2 separate regions of the Homo sapiens genome follow, and region 1 is linked to region 2. The links are contacts of gene promoters, found by promoter capture Hi-C in blood cells and fetal thymus (Javierre and others, 2016). All regions are on one chromosome and are shown on one strand. Each heading gives the region's core, a stretch centred on a gene start or on the middle of the fragment in contact. The rest is flanking DNA. Distances are from core to core; before and after follow the strand shown. Region 1 has its middle 47 kb from the start of CLDN23. Region 2 holds the start of PPP1R3B (protein phosphatase 1 regulatory subunit 3B).

Evidence for each region. Contacts are between HindIII fragments. The CHiCAGO score rates a contact against its expected background, and 5 or more counts as called.
Region 1: a fragment that was not itself captured here is called in contact with the fragment with the promoter of PPP1R3B in region 2 in 1 of 17 cell types (M2 macrophages); the score reaches 5.7 in M2 macrophages.

What each region holds. Positions count from the first base shown.
Region 1 is chr8:8,746,188-8,752,663 of GRCh38, forward strand. No RefSeq gene overlaps it. Among named protein-coding and RNA genes, the nearest start is that of CLDN23, 47 kb to the left of the region's middle. The HindIII fragment of the contact is 5,283 bases long and covers 313-5,595 here.
Region 2 is chr8:9,147,205-9,153,537 of GRCh38, forward strand. PPP1R3B (protein phosphatase 1 regulatory subunit 3B) reads right to left here and starts at 3,454. Exons shown (of 2, transcript NM_024607.4): 1 at 3,359-3,454. It overlaps PPP1R3B-DT (PPP1R3B divergent transcript), which reads left to right and starts at 4,521. Exons shown (of 5, transcript NR_183348.1): 1 at 4,521-4,712. RefSeq lists enhancers at 2,854-3,802, 3,849-4,088 and silencers at 3,439-3,708, 4,209-4,458. The HindIII fragment of the contact is 22,346 bases long and covers 1-6,333 here.

The DNA.
Region 1 (6,476 bases), core at 1,704-4,203, 400 kb before region 2:
CCCAGCTACCAGGGAGGCTGAGGCAGGAGAATCACTTGAACCTGGGAAGCAGAGGTTGCAGTGAGCTGAGATTATGCCACTACACTCCAGCCTAGGCAACAGATCAAGACTTCATCTCAAAAAAAAAAAAAAAAGTAAAGAGAAAAAGACCAAAACAGACTAATGGAAACCAGAAATTCAGAGAAACAGAGACAACACAGGGAGCATAAGAGAGTTCCATAGAAACTATGACTGTTTGAGAAATAAGCAAACACAAGACATCTATAAAACAAGAACAGTATCACCTTAAAATAAAAATCAAAGAACAAGAAAAGCTTTGACAATTAAAAGTCTGACACAACTTTTCTTAAAAAATCAATAAAAGTATTCAAAAATAGAGTTTTAAAAATCTTTTCAGATAGGTTTTTTTCAACGTTTGTTTTAGACTCAGGGAGTTCAAGTGCAGATTTGTTACTTGGATGTATTGTGTGATGCTGAGGTTTGAGGTATGAATGATCCCATCACCCAGGTAGTGGACGTAGTATCCAATAGGTCATTTCTCAGGCCTTGCCCCACTCCCTTCTTCCTCTCCTCTAGTAGTCCCCACTGTCTGTTGTTCCCATATTTATGTTCACGAGTACTCAATGTTTAGCTTCCACTTATAAGTGAAAACACGTGGTAATTGGTTTTCTGTTCTTGCATTAATTCGCTTAGGATAATGGCCTCCAGCTGCATCCATATTTCTAAAAAGGACATGATTTTTTCTTCTTTATGGGCTGTGTAGTATTCCATGGTGTACATGTACCATATTTTCTTTATCCGATCTACTGTTGTTGGGCACCTCTGTTGATTCTATGTCTTTGCTATTATGAATAGCACTGTGATGAACGTGCACCTGCATGTGTCTCTTTGGTAGAATCATTTGTTTTCTTTTGAATATTTACCCAGTAATGGGATTGCTGGGTCAAATGGTCCGGATAGTTTTTGAAAAGGACAATAGGAGGGGCCGGGTGCGGTGGCTCACACCTGTAATCCCAGCACTTTGGGAGGCCAAGGCAGGTGGATCACCTGAGGTCAGGAGCTCAAGACCAGCCTAGCCAACATGGGGAAACCCCGTCTCTACTAAAATACAAAAATTAGCCGGGCATGGTGGTGCACACCTGTAATCCCAGCTACCTGGGAGGCTGAGGCAGGAGAATTGTTTGAACCTGGGAGGTGGAGGTTGCAGTGAGCCAAGATCATGCTATTGCACTCCAGCCTGTGCGACAGAGCGAGACTCTGTCTCAAGAAAAAAAAAAAAAAAAAGACAACAGGAGGGCGAAGGTAGGTAAATTAGAAGATCATTTGCAGGTGTGTGAAAGTTGTCAGAATCAAAATTCAGTCACATGTTTAAAATTCTAACAAATAGAGCCAGGGAAGGTCATAAAAGGAGAATCCTCATTAAAAACATATCGCATTTTTTGGTAAACTTTATATGCAGAATTATATATATTAGTTAGAATTTTTAACTCTTAATAACTTTAATTTCTACTGAAAACCTAGGAAATAAGATGTTTTTTAGTGTCTGTCACATATCAATATGTTGCAGATGTGAACCATTTTATCATTTCAAAAAGCATTTCCCCAAAACATAATTTTTGTGTGTATTAATAAACCCAAATATATTTAGTCTTTATATAAAATTCAAGAAGCCAAGAACAAACATATATTTATGTTCAGCAATTTATGTTTCAGTATTTTAACTTACTTAGAAATGACTCAGACATTTTGTGAATATCTATTACCTAATTTAACATAACCTGAAAATTTCACAAGTTTATTTATAAATGTTTATCACATTGCATTTTCCTAATGTATTTATTTTTAACAATTTACCTAGATTATCATAGCCAAACTATCAATCAAGTGTGAGGCTAGACTGAAGACCATCTGTGACCTCAGGCAAGGGTCATAACGTGTCTGCACTTCCTGTTCCTCCATACAAAAGCAATGAAGATGGTAGCACCGCCTTGCCCATCTCAGAGGATCCTTATCAAGATGAAATAAAGCATAACTTCCATCCATAGAGTACTAATTCCCTTGTAAGTCATAAGCTCCTCTGGGGCAGTGTCTAATTATGATTTATCTTTGGACTCTCTAAATTACCCAGACCAGTGACTTACACATAGTAAATATCAATAAATACTCTTTGAATGAATACATAAGATTTGTAGAGCAACTTTCTAAAAGTTGAAAGATACAGCACTTTATATATAACCATAAAAATTTAGAAACCTAATATATATATACATATAAATAATACTGCCTTCTAGAAAAATAAAGTATGACATGGCCATGTAGTAAAATCTTGTGTATTCATTAGACTGAGTTGTTGTTGTTGTTGTTTTGACCAGGGAAATTGTTCATGATGTAATGCTGCAGTGTTTAAGGTGGGTTGTAGATCAGTGAGAAGTGACATTCCCCCTCAGAAATACACACATTCCCATACACCTGCTATATTTCCCAATTGAATTCGGCGAAGAGAGAGAAATTAACAGAAACAAGGAGGCTCCCAGAGAGTGGGTGAGAGACCCGGAGAGGTTTGTCCTGGCTCCTGACTTGCCTATAGTACTCAAGGGACTGGTGTCATTCTCTGTCCAGGTAGGTCCTCGTCAATGTTGAGAAAACAGCTAAACCCTTGTAGTGCAACAACCCTTTTAGACTCAGGCAGGCATTGCCAATCTGGAATAATATACGCTGGTAATCCATGTGCTTCCATTTGAGGTAGTATTGGAAAGCATCAGCCTCTCCTTGTTCCTGAACCTGCCTCACAATCTACAAGGCCACCTCCCCTTCCAGGTAGAAAGCAGAGGCTGTGTCTAGATGGCCCTGAATGACAGCTCTGCCTGCTATTCTCCATTGTCCTAGAAAGCCCACGTCCCCACCGTCCACCCCTCTCTGATTTCATCCTCTGTTTCCCAGATGAATCTCAAACTGTGTTAGTTTGAGACCTAATGTTACAAATCCATGTAGTCTATGATCTCAAATATTCAAAAATATGGAAGAATCACTGAGGCAGTAGCATCAACTGAGCCCAGGAGCTTGAGGCTGAGAGTGGGAGGACAAAAGGGCAGGTGGGGAGAGAAGACCCAACCTGGTGGCCCTGCAGCGCCTCTGTGGATGGATTTTACAAAACAGTACAAAGGGAAGCTGAGGGTCAATAAATGAATGCCCTGAAAACCACCTGGCAAGAAACCCTTGTAAAGTTTCTCTGTAACCTCAGGGTGATATAGGCCCCAGTTTAAAATCTATTCATTCAGAACTCCAGGACTGCAGGTTCTTGCTAAGCATCCAGCCTGCTGACAAAAGCACTGTTTAGGCAAGATGCCAGCGGGACTTGGGAGCAACCCACCTCTAAAGGACGATGCTTTTCAAAATGGGTTCCCTAGATCACCTGCATCAAATATTATCTGAGTGTTTATTCAATATGTTTAACATGAAGATTCCTAGGCTCTGTCTCAAACCAGCTGAAAAGGAATCTTTAGGAAGAGGGACATGTGAAACTGTTTGTTGAAGCAACCTACAGCAACGTATGGGCTTTTTGTTGTTGTTGTTGTTGTTTAGACGGGGTCTCACTCTGTTGCCCAGGCTGGAGTGCAGTGGCCCCTCATCATCACACCCACAGCATTCTGCTTTGTCTAAGGCTTCCAAATGTATTCCCTAGTTTCCACCACACCACGGTAGCCCCTCAAGCTCCGGGCTGGATCTATGTCTAATTCATCATTGTGTCCACATCCTAGCCACATGACTAGCACATAGCTGTGCTCAATAGATACTTGTTGTATGAATAAATTCATAGTAAGTAGAAGATACAAAAATGAAGAAGGTGGCTGGGTGCAGTGGCTCATGCCATAATCCTAGCATTTTGGGAGGCTGAGGCGGGAGGATCGCTTGAGTTGAGGAGTTCAAGACCAGCCTGGGCAACATGGCAAAACCCCGTCTCTACAAAAAATAAAATAAAATAAAATAAATGAAGAAGGGAAGAATGTTTGAGGAACTCCCAAATATAGGATTAGTGCTCAGTTACTAATACACTAAGGAGCAGATTATTGGTATGGATCAGCGCAACCAAAAGGTAACCTCCAAATCATTGCTATCTGACTATCATCTATCTATTATCTATATATATATATATGTAATCTATATATGTGTATATATAATCTATATATGTATGTAATTTATATATATCTATATATAATCTTAAAATTATGTAGTGATAGAAAGGGCAGGCTTATGCGATGGCGGATGGGATTATGCCTTCGGCTTTTGGAACTATCGAATATCAATGTGGAAGACTTGAAGACCTGTTTGCTGAAGACCCTCTAAGCCTCTTAGAAAACAGTGACAAGAGCTTTGGGACATTTGCTAGGACACCGGATATTCTGGCATTTATGAACCAAGCCTGGGGATGCTCTCTACTGCTGTGGAGTTGGGGTGGTTTCAGCGGAGGACAACAAGGCTGCTAATTTGTTACTCAACTGCCCTTTGGCCCAACGCCTGGGAATTTATCCTAAAGGCCTCAGTAAAGGAGATTGTCAGTTAAAGAGTCCAATTACCCACGAGAAGCCTTATTAGTAACTGAACTTGCTCCTGGGCAAAGAATGCTGACCATCTCGGGGAGAAGAACCCTAAAGCCTGAATTCAAGACAGCAGCAGGGAATACAGCAACTGTCAGTTACAGCCACCAGGTGGCGCAGCAGAAAGCCAAACTCTCAGGAGCGCAAGGCAAACCCACATCCTGGTTCTTCTCCCCTAAGAAATTTGGTAGCCTCAGAAATTCGTCTGGAGAAGGGCTTAGAGGCAGACACCATTGAAACGGTAACCCAAGACCTTAATTTCACCCTTGCCTCAGTTTTACCCTTAAAATTACACCCAGAAAATGAACTGATAGGACTCGCTCTTGAGAGCCAATTGCTAAATTTTTAGCCCATCTTTTCTCAACCTCATGGTCAGTGACACCAAGTTGGTAACGTGAAATTGGCCAGGAAGGAATATTTACACCATGGAAATTGGCAAATGCTATAAATCAGTTCTTCAGAGGGTTGGTTGTTAAACATTTACCCAACACTCCTGGGTGAGAAGGAGAGACCGCCCATAAATTGTGCTGGGAGGCAAAAGAGGAAAGTTTGGCAATTTGCTTCTGATAATAACTCGGACAAAGTCAAATGTAGCAGCTAAAAACTTGGACTCTGTATTCAGGATTTAGGACTTAAATCTGTTGTTTAAGATTAAGCTCTGCCATTTATTAGCTGTGTAGAGTTGGGCAATCAACTCTTGGTGCCCATCTCTTCATCTGTAAAAAAGATATAATTGTACCTACTTAGTAAGGCTACTGTATAAGTCACCTTAAAATAACTATATGTGTTAGATATTACTATTACTAAAAGGTGATGAAATTATTAATACCATTAATTCAGAAATCATTACGATGTAAACAACAGAGACACACTTGAATTTTAAGACCTTAAAGCTATTTACCAATCTCGTTATATTTTTATATTTAATTTCAGATCCTGATTTAAATTTATTTTCTGTAAAGTGACTAAACACATTGGTTGGTTTTAATCCAGAATAATAAGCTTTTTACTATCATAAATTCTCTTTTGAATGTTTGGGAAGTAAATTATATATTTCCAGGGTTTTGCTCTAAAGGCTTTTTATTCTCTTTCTTTAAATATTTTGTAAATATCAGAAAGTCAGTTGGGTTTCCCAAAGAGTATGCCATTTAACATGAGTATGTCTCAAGTTGAGTCAAACAGAGGTTGCTCAGAAATTGGGTTAATAGAAACTCCAAGTCTCATTCCTCTAATGAGGGGCTAAGGGTTTTTCTCCATGTTTTGGATGGTGGCAGCCTTTGAGAATAAATAGATGAAATGATCTCTCATAGCGACAGAAGGAAAGTAGAACAATCTAGAACAACTAGACATGTGACTTTCTCTGAAACCACAAAGTAAATAAAAGACTCAGCTTTATGTTTTAAGGAGCTTCATCAATTAGGTCTGGATTTTGATTGATAAAAAATTCAGGGTGTCTGCTTACATAAAATTGTGAGACTTTTCTAGAAGTTTTGGAGAAAGTTGGGTTGCGACCTACCCTCTGACATCCTGACATTAAGAGTCACCTGGCCTGAGGCCAGAGGAATGAATACTCAGTGACCCACCTATGTCACTTCTAACTGGCAGAAATTAGAAAGCTGTGAAACTAATTGGTCAAAGAGGCTGTCAAACTCATTGCATCATCTATACTTTAAAGTCCAGAACTGCAGCGCTTTCTGCTCACTCCAGCCGCTTACCTTTTTGACTCACTTATTGTATTTTAATGAGCCAATCAGACTCGTATGTATTGATTTCCTGTTATTTCTACCCAATACTATGAGATGTGCTGTTGAAAAATTTATTTTAAAAACTACAACCACAGGGAAAAGAATACTTTTTCAAGGCACAACAAGGCACAACAAG
Region 2 (6,333 bases), core at 2,204-4,703:
CCATGTCAGGCTGGTCTCGAACTCCTGACCTCATGATCTGCTCCCCTCAGCCTCCCACAGTGCTGGGATTATAGGCATGAGCCACCGTGCCCAGCCTTGTTTTTAAACAAGTACGAAAACCAAACAAGAGGCTATATCTGGCATCCCAGTGCCCCCCACTCTACCCATCCTGAAAAATCTGGGTGTGAACTGAGGGAGGAAGGGTTCCTCTTCACAGCTTCCTCCTCAACTGAGTCAGCACAGGTTATCTGCAAGTTCTCTTTGCACTTCCAAGAAGCCTGCAAACCAGCCTCCTACGTGCTTTTTCTGCATGTTAGGAAAAGCCTTGGAAACTCTCAAGATATTGTGGAAACAGCCAAAGCAAAAGGATCAATCAAAGAATCTACACACAGCCCACTAGAGCCAATGTCCCAAGTTCTAATCCCGCAGGCTGAAGAGACTTAGCTGAAGACCTTGGTAGAGTTTCACTGTTTCACCCCAGTGGCATAAATTTGTCCCTGAGATCCCTTTTTATCACCAAGCTGTAAGAACAAGCAGAAGTCCGGCTTGGAGAGGCCAGGCTCTAGTCAGAGCCAGAGCTAATTAAACAATGCTGCTGGCACTTGAAGGAGCCAAACTGCTATTACAAGATTCTTCCATGAAAGGCAAAAGTAAGGTTATGATGGCTCAAGAGTTACCCGCAGGACTACTACCCCAGGGACATTGCACAAGCAACCCCAGTCTAGAATCCCTTCACTTTGTGTGTCACCATAACTGCAGGTGAGGACATTAACCTGTGTGGCCTCAATCTGGGGTATGACTCGACTGTCAGTCACCTTGCCTGTCCCACAGATAGCTTCCAGATTTTATTTACCAGGTCATTCTCCAAGAATCAGCACACCAAAGTGCTGGTTTGGTGTAGGCTTTCCTGAACTGCTCAGGAACTCCCCAGCGGACTGTGACAGGGATGGCTGCCGCCATGCAGAAGTACTCCTAGCAACTGAGATGTGCAAGGTAATATTAAGTTCCTGAAAAGAAGGCACCTGGACAGGTGCTTCTTTTACAAATGACATGAAAATGATCGGTTCCAACACAGGAAGCACCAGGCTGCAGCCCAGCCTCCTCTCCTGACAGACTCTCTGGCTGCTCCAGCTCTGTCCTTTTCCCAGGCCAGGGAATATGAGTCACCAAAGTTGGCCAAGGGGGAAAAAAAAAGAACCAGAAGTTATGGACATACATTTGAACCATGAGAGCAGGACTCAGGATCTGATACCAGTTGCAGGATAGGAATGAGTGTATGAGTGCTGCTCCCAGGTAGGTATGAATTCTCAAACACTTGCTTCCATAGAGATGCCTCAGAGCTCAGGGATCAGTTTCTCTGGTGAGAGACTGGGCCATGCTTGAGGGTAGATTACAGTGTTCATGGCTAAGACAGGGCAAACCCTAACAGATCATGGAGATAGTTTTGCATAAATGCTTTATCTGTTCCACTCATAACACACCTTCTCAAGACAGCTGGCCAAGGTTAGACGGCCATGGTGATAACTATAGACCTGCACAGAAAATAACCCTATGACCTTCACGGTTTCAGGCAGCTGAACTACTGACTTTCTGGCTGTACCTTTCATAGGGAGGAAATCTTTTTTGTATCAGGGCCACGACATTATCCCCTCCATTCTCTTATTCTCTCTCTCTCTTTCTTCTGGTAAGAAAAGACAAAAAGGCCGGGCGTGGTGGCTCACGCCTGTAATCCCAGCACTTTGGGAGGCCGAGGCGGGCGGATCACGAGATCAGGAGATCGAGACCATCCTGGCGAACACGGTGAAACCCCGTCTCTACTAAAAATACAAAAAAAAAAAATTAGCCGGGCGTGGCGGCGGGCGCCTGTAGTCCCAGCTACTCAGGAGGCCGAGGCAGGAGAATGGCGCGAACCCGGGAGGCGGAGCTTGCAGTGAGCCGAGATGGCGCCACTGCAGTCCAGCCTGGGCGACAGAGCGAAACTACGTCTCAAAAAAAAAAAAAAAAGGCAAAAAAAGGCCGGGCGTGGTGGCTCACGCCTGTAATCCCAGCACTTTGGGAGGCCGAGGCGGGCAGATCACGAGGTCAGGAGATCGACACCATCCTGGCTAACACGGTGAAACCCCGTCTCTACTAAAAATACAAATAAAAATTAGCTGGGCGTGGTGGCGGGCGCCTGTAGTCCCAGCTACTCAGGAGGCCGAGGCAGGAGAATGGCGTGAACCCGGGAGGCGGAGCTTACAATGAGCCAGAGATGGCGCCACTGCACTCCAGCCTGGGCGACAGAGCGACACTCCGTCTCAAAACAAACAAACAAAACCAAACAAACAAAAAAATCAGATGCACAAGCAACCCACCAGGAACACTGAAAGCTGCCGAACTGCATTCAGTAAACATTCACAACCAGGTTATAATTTTCATTTTTAAAGACATGGCCATCTACCTCCCTCCAACAATTCTGTGTTCCCTTCCAAAAGGTTTCACTGATCCAGCATGAAGAGAGTGCATGTCTTTCCCCTTTGTACTCAGACCATGGGGGCCTATTCACAGCCTTAAAGGCTCCTTGTACCCCTTGATCCTGTCCCCATCATCCAAAGCATCTTGGAGACTGACATTTGTGAATACAGTTGCATATTCTAGGAAAGAGGCAAGTTCAAATGACACAGCCCCTGCCGTCTAAAAACGTACGAGGGAAAACAGAGTACTAGGCTAAGAATGCCCGCACCTTGCTTTGCTACTTGAGCGAGTCACTCAGCTGCTCTGGGCTTGAGGTCCCCTCCAAGGTCCCTGCTGGCCCTGACATTGTATGTTGCGACCCACCCCTGGTGCCGCTTCTCTTCCCACTAACTTTTTTTCCTAAATACCTCAACTGTACTTTTGTGTAAGTCCTCCAGCTGTCTTCACTTTAGTTTTGGCTCCTGGACAACTCTGCCCAAGGAAACATTTCCTCCTCTCCTCCTCTTCCTCCCAGACCAAAGCTCTAATTGTCTCTTCTGCTGCACCCTGGGTCTCCCAGGCAGGCCCCCGCCACTCAGACCACAGGTTCCAACACCTTCCAAGTCTCCAAGTTCCCAAGTCCAGTCTTTCCTCTGTTTTCTCCTCTTTTTCAGAAAACAGTGCTCTGACAGGCCCCAAATCTTCCAGTAAGTCATTACCGGCCCCCACTCCCTCTTTTGCAGCTACTGTGCCTTCCACACCCCTTTTTCTGGATTCCAAAGAGACGCAGGAGCAGGCCAGTGCTCTCCAGGCTGGAGGATCCCACAAGTTACTCTCCGACTCTGTCCCCTCCGTCCAGTTTGACCAGGGCTGCACTCCGCCCCCAACCTCCCTACAAGCCTCCTTGGCCTCGCGCCGCACCCACCTTTTGGGCCGCGGAGAAGCCCCCTCCCCAGCTCGCTCGCCGCATCGGAGAGCCCGCAGGGTTGTGGCAAGCGCGACTACGTGAGCGTCGGTGTGTCCGGGAGGCAGGGCCTGGGCTGGGTTCCCGGAGATGTCGGCGGTGGGAGGAAGACGACGAGGAGGAGGAGCCCGTTATCGCACCCGGGCGGGGCCGGCAAAGGGGCAACCCCGGCCGGAGCAAGCAGCGCGACACCAGCACCCCCGCGCGGCCGCCTGGCCTCCGCCAGCCCGGGACGGGGATCGTGCTAGGTCCCGTCGCCCTCGGTGGCCTGAGAGCCTACCAAGTGTATTTCCTCGCGTTTTATAGGGAAAATAAGGCCCGGAGAGAGACGAAGCGGCTTGTCCTTAAGCTCCAAACCCCACTACCCAACTTTGGAGAAGTCTCCAGACCTCTCGGGACCCGGGGCTGGGAACTTGTGCTAGTTTCGAAGCCAGAACAACAGGTGGTAAAGGGATCAGCCGCCGCAGCCGCAGCTCCCGGGTCACGGTCGCAGCCGGGCCCAGCAGCGCGGTGGAGCACGTGGGCCCGGGAGGCGCTTCCCAGCTGCGGTCCCTGGATCGCCCTCTCCACGCTGAAGCAACAGCTCCCTGGGGCCAGCTACCTAGAGTGTTCCAGCCCCGGTGTGCCAGTGCAAGTCGCACGGTGAAAATGTAGGTGACAGGAACCCAAAGAGGTCCCCGCTGCACGCCCTCGCCTTGTTGTCCCCAGCCCTTCCCTCGGACTCGAGACTTGGGGAGCTACGTACCGGGTTCAGCTCATAAGTCCCGAGGGCAGACGCGCCAGCCCGCGGCAGCATACGCCCTGGGGGAACAGGGACAGCTGCCGTGACGGCAGGAGCTGGGCCCGGGCTCGGGTTCGCGCCCCCCGCGGGCGGCGAAGTCCGTCCGTGCACGAGAGCTGCGCGGTCACCTCCTCCCTCCAGCAGTCACCCGGGACTCGAGCTCCCCGCGGCCGCGCTGCCCCCTTTAACTTTCCTGCCAGCTCTCGGGACCCCGGGGTCCATCCCAGGCCCCCTGCCACGTGAACGCCCCCCGCAGCCAATGGGCGCGCCCGGGACTCCAGCCGCCGACCAATGGGCGCGCAGCCACGGCGCTGGGGAGCACCGCTTCGCCACGTGATCGGCAGCGCGCCCGGAGTGATCCGGCTGCGGGCCAGGGTCTGGGAAGGGGGTGGTGGGTCGCCGTTTCATCAGAAGCCGGAGGACGGGCGCCAGGGGGCAACTTCCTACAGGAGGGCGTCCCGTTAGAATGACAGGGCTTTTGCAAAAGTCTGACACCCGTGGCACAGAGCGCCCCAGATATGGAGGGTTTCACAGGTAGGTATACTTCAGAAGAAATTTCCTGACTTGAATCGGTTATAATCGCTATCTAAATCTACAGGGCCTCCGCGATGCATATTATGCACCTTGAGATCTATAGAAAATGGTCTTAGAAAAAGAAAAAAATGATGACCTTAAAGAGTTTGAATCAGAGGCTCTTCCTTTCTTCAGTTTACATGTAACTTGATCTGAACTAGCCACTTTAGGCATGAGGCTACCAGTTTTCTAATTTTAATGACCAGTAGAGTTTTAGAAAAAAATTAGAAATTGATATAGGATTGCCAACTTTTTAAACTGCCAAGAAAGACATGAAAATAAACCCTGCTGTCTTCTATTACTATCCTTTTATTTTTATTTTTTAAAGTACACTTTAATAGCAATAACAACGAAATGCAGGAAGGATGTAATGGCCAGTCTTTCCCATTGGATATATTTAGCTTTCTGAAAACTCATTATGTTGAATATGGCATTTGGGAGTTTCTACTGTAAGGGATACAGGCTCAGCTTCAATTTTACTAGGAATGCAAGCCTAAAACAGTGATCGGTGACAATAATCCAATACAAGCCTTTAGCTCTATAGAGAGCTTCCCCGGAGGGAGTCCTGGTGTCTGAAGAATGATCATTAATCTTCTTCCTTCTTTTCTGATGGGCAGATCTGATAAGGGACCACTTGTGAAGTCAGCTATTGGTAGGTGGTTGGCAAATAGCGTTTCTGTGCAATATTCCCTCTGCCAACTTTAAACCCTCTCTTGTTAGGTGATGAGTAGGTTGAAGATTTTTAAGCCAAGTACTGGCTAAGTTTCTCAGGTGTAGTGAGCATGCTGGAGGAGTGGGCAAAGATGAAGAGCCAAGAGGTATTGCAAAACATATGCAGGCAAAGGGTAATCCGAACCACACCGGGAAAGAGTTGGGACAAGTAAATACAGCTTTGTAGCATTAGGGTTTGGGAGCATTTTTCTTGCATAGATCTAGGAAACCATGGTCAATAATTTCCCCTGTGGTTTAGATGACTTTTTCAGACCAGGAGAGAGGGGTTAAACTTAGTTGTGGTACACCACAGCCTTAGTAGGTAGGAGGGTGTCATCTATGAGTTTGAAAAGAGCACAGTCTTTGCCATCAGGATAGAGCTGAGATGCAAGCTCAGAGGAGGGCTTTACCAGGAGACCCAGCAGTGCAGAGCTCCAGAGCCTGAGAGCTGGACCCACCCTCAGACACGATCTTGCCTCACCCTCTCATTTTATGGCAACAAAGAGAGAAAGTGAAAATGGAAAATTTCAATGCTTACTGCATCAGTCAATGCACACCAAGTTCTTTCTATTATATCTGGCATTGGGTTACAGCTTTAATTTTATTTAACAACCCTCCTCCCCCAACCAAAAAAAAAAAAAAAAATGAAACCAGAAAACAGCAGTGGCTAAGCATAGTAAATTATTATTCTTCCATAAACTGTTCTTTTTCTTTTTTTTTAATTTATTTATTTATTTTTTTAATTTATTTATTTTTTATTGATAATTCTTGGGTGTTTCTCACAGAGGGGGATTTGGCAGGGTCATAGGACAATAGTGGAGGGAAGGTCAGCAGATAAACAAGTGAACAAAGGTCTCTGGTTTTCCTAGGC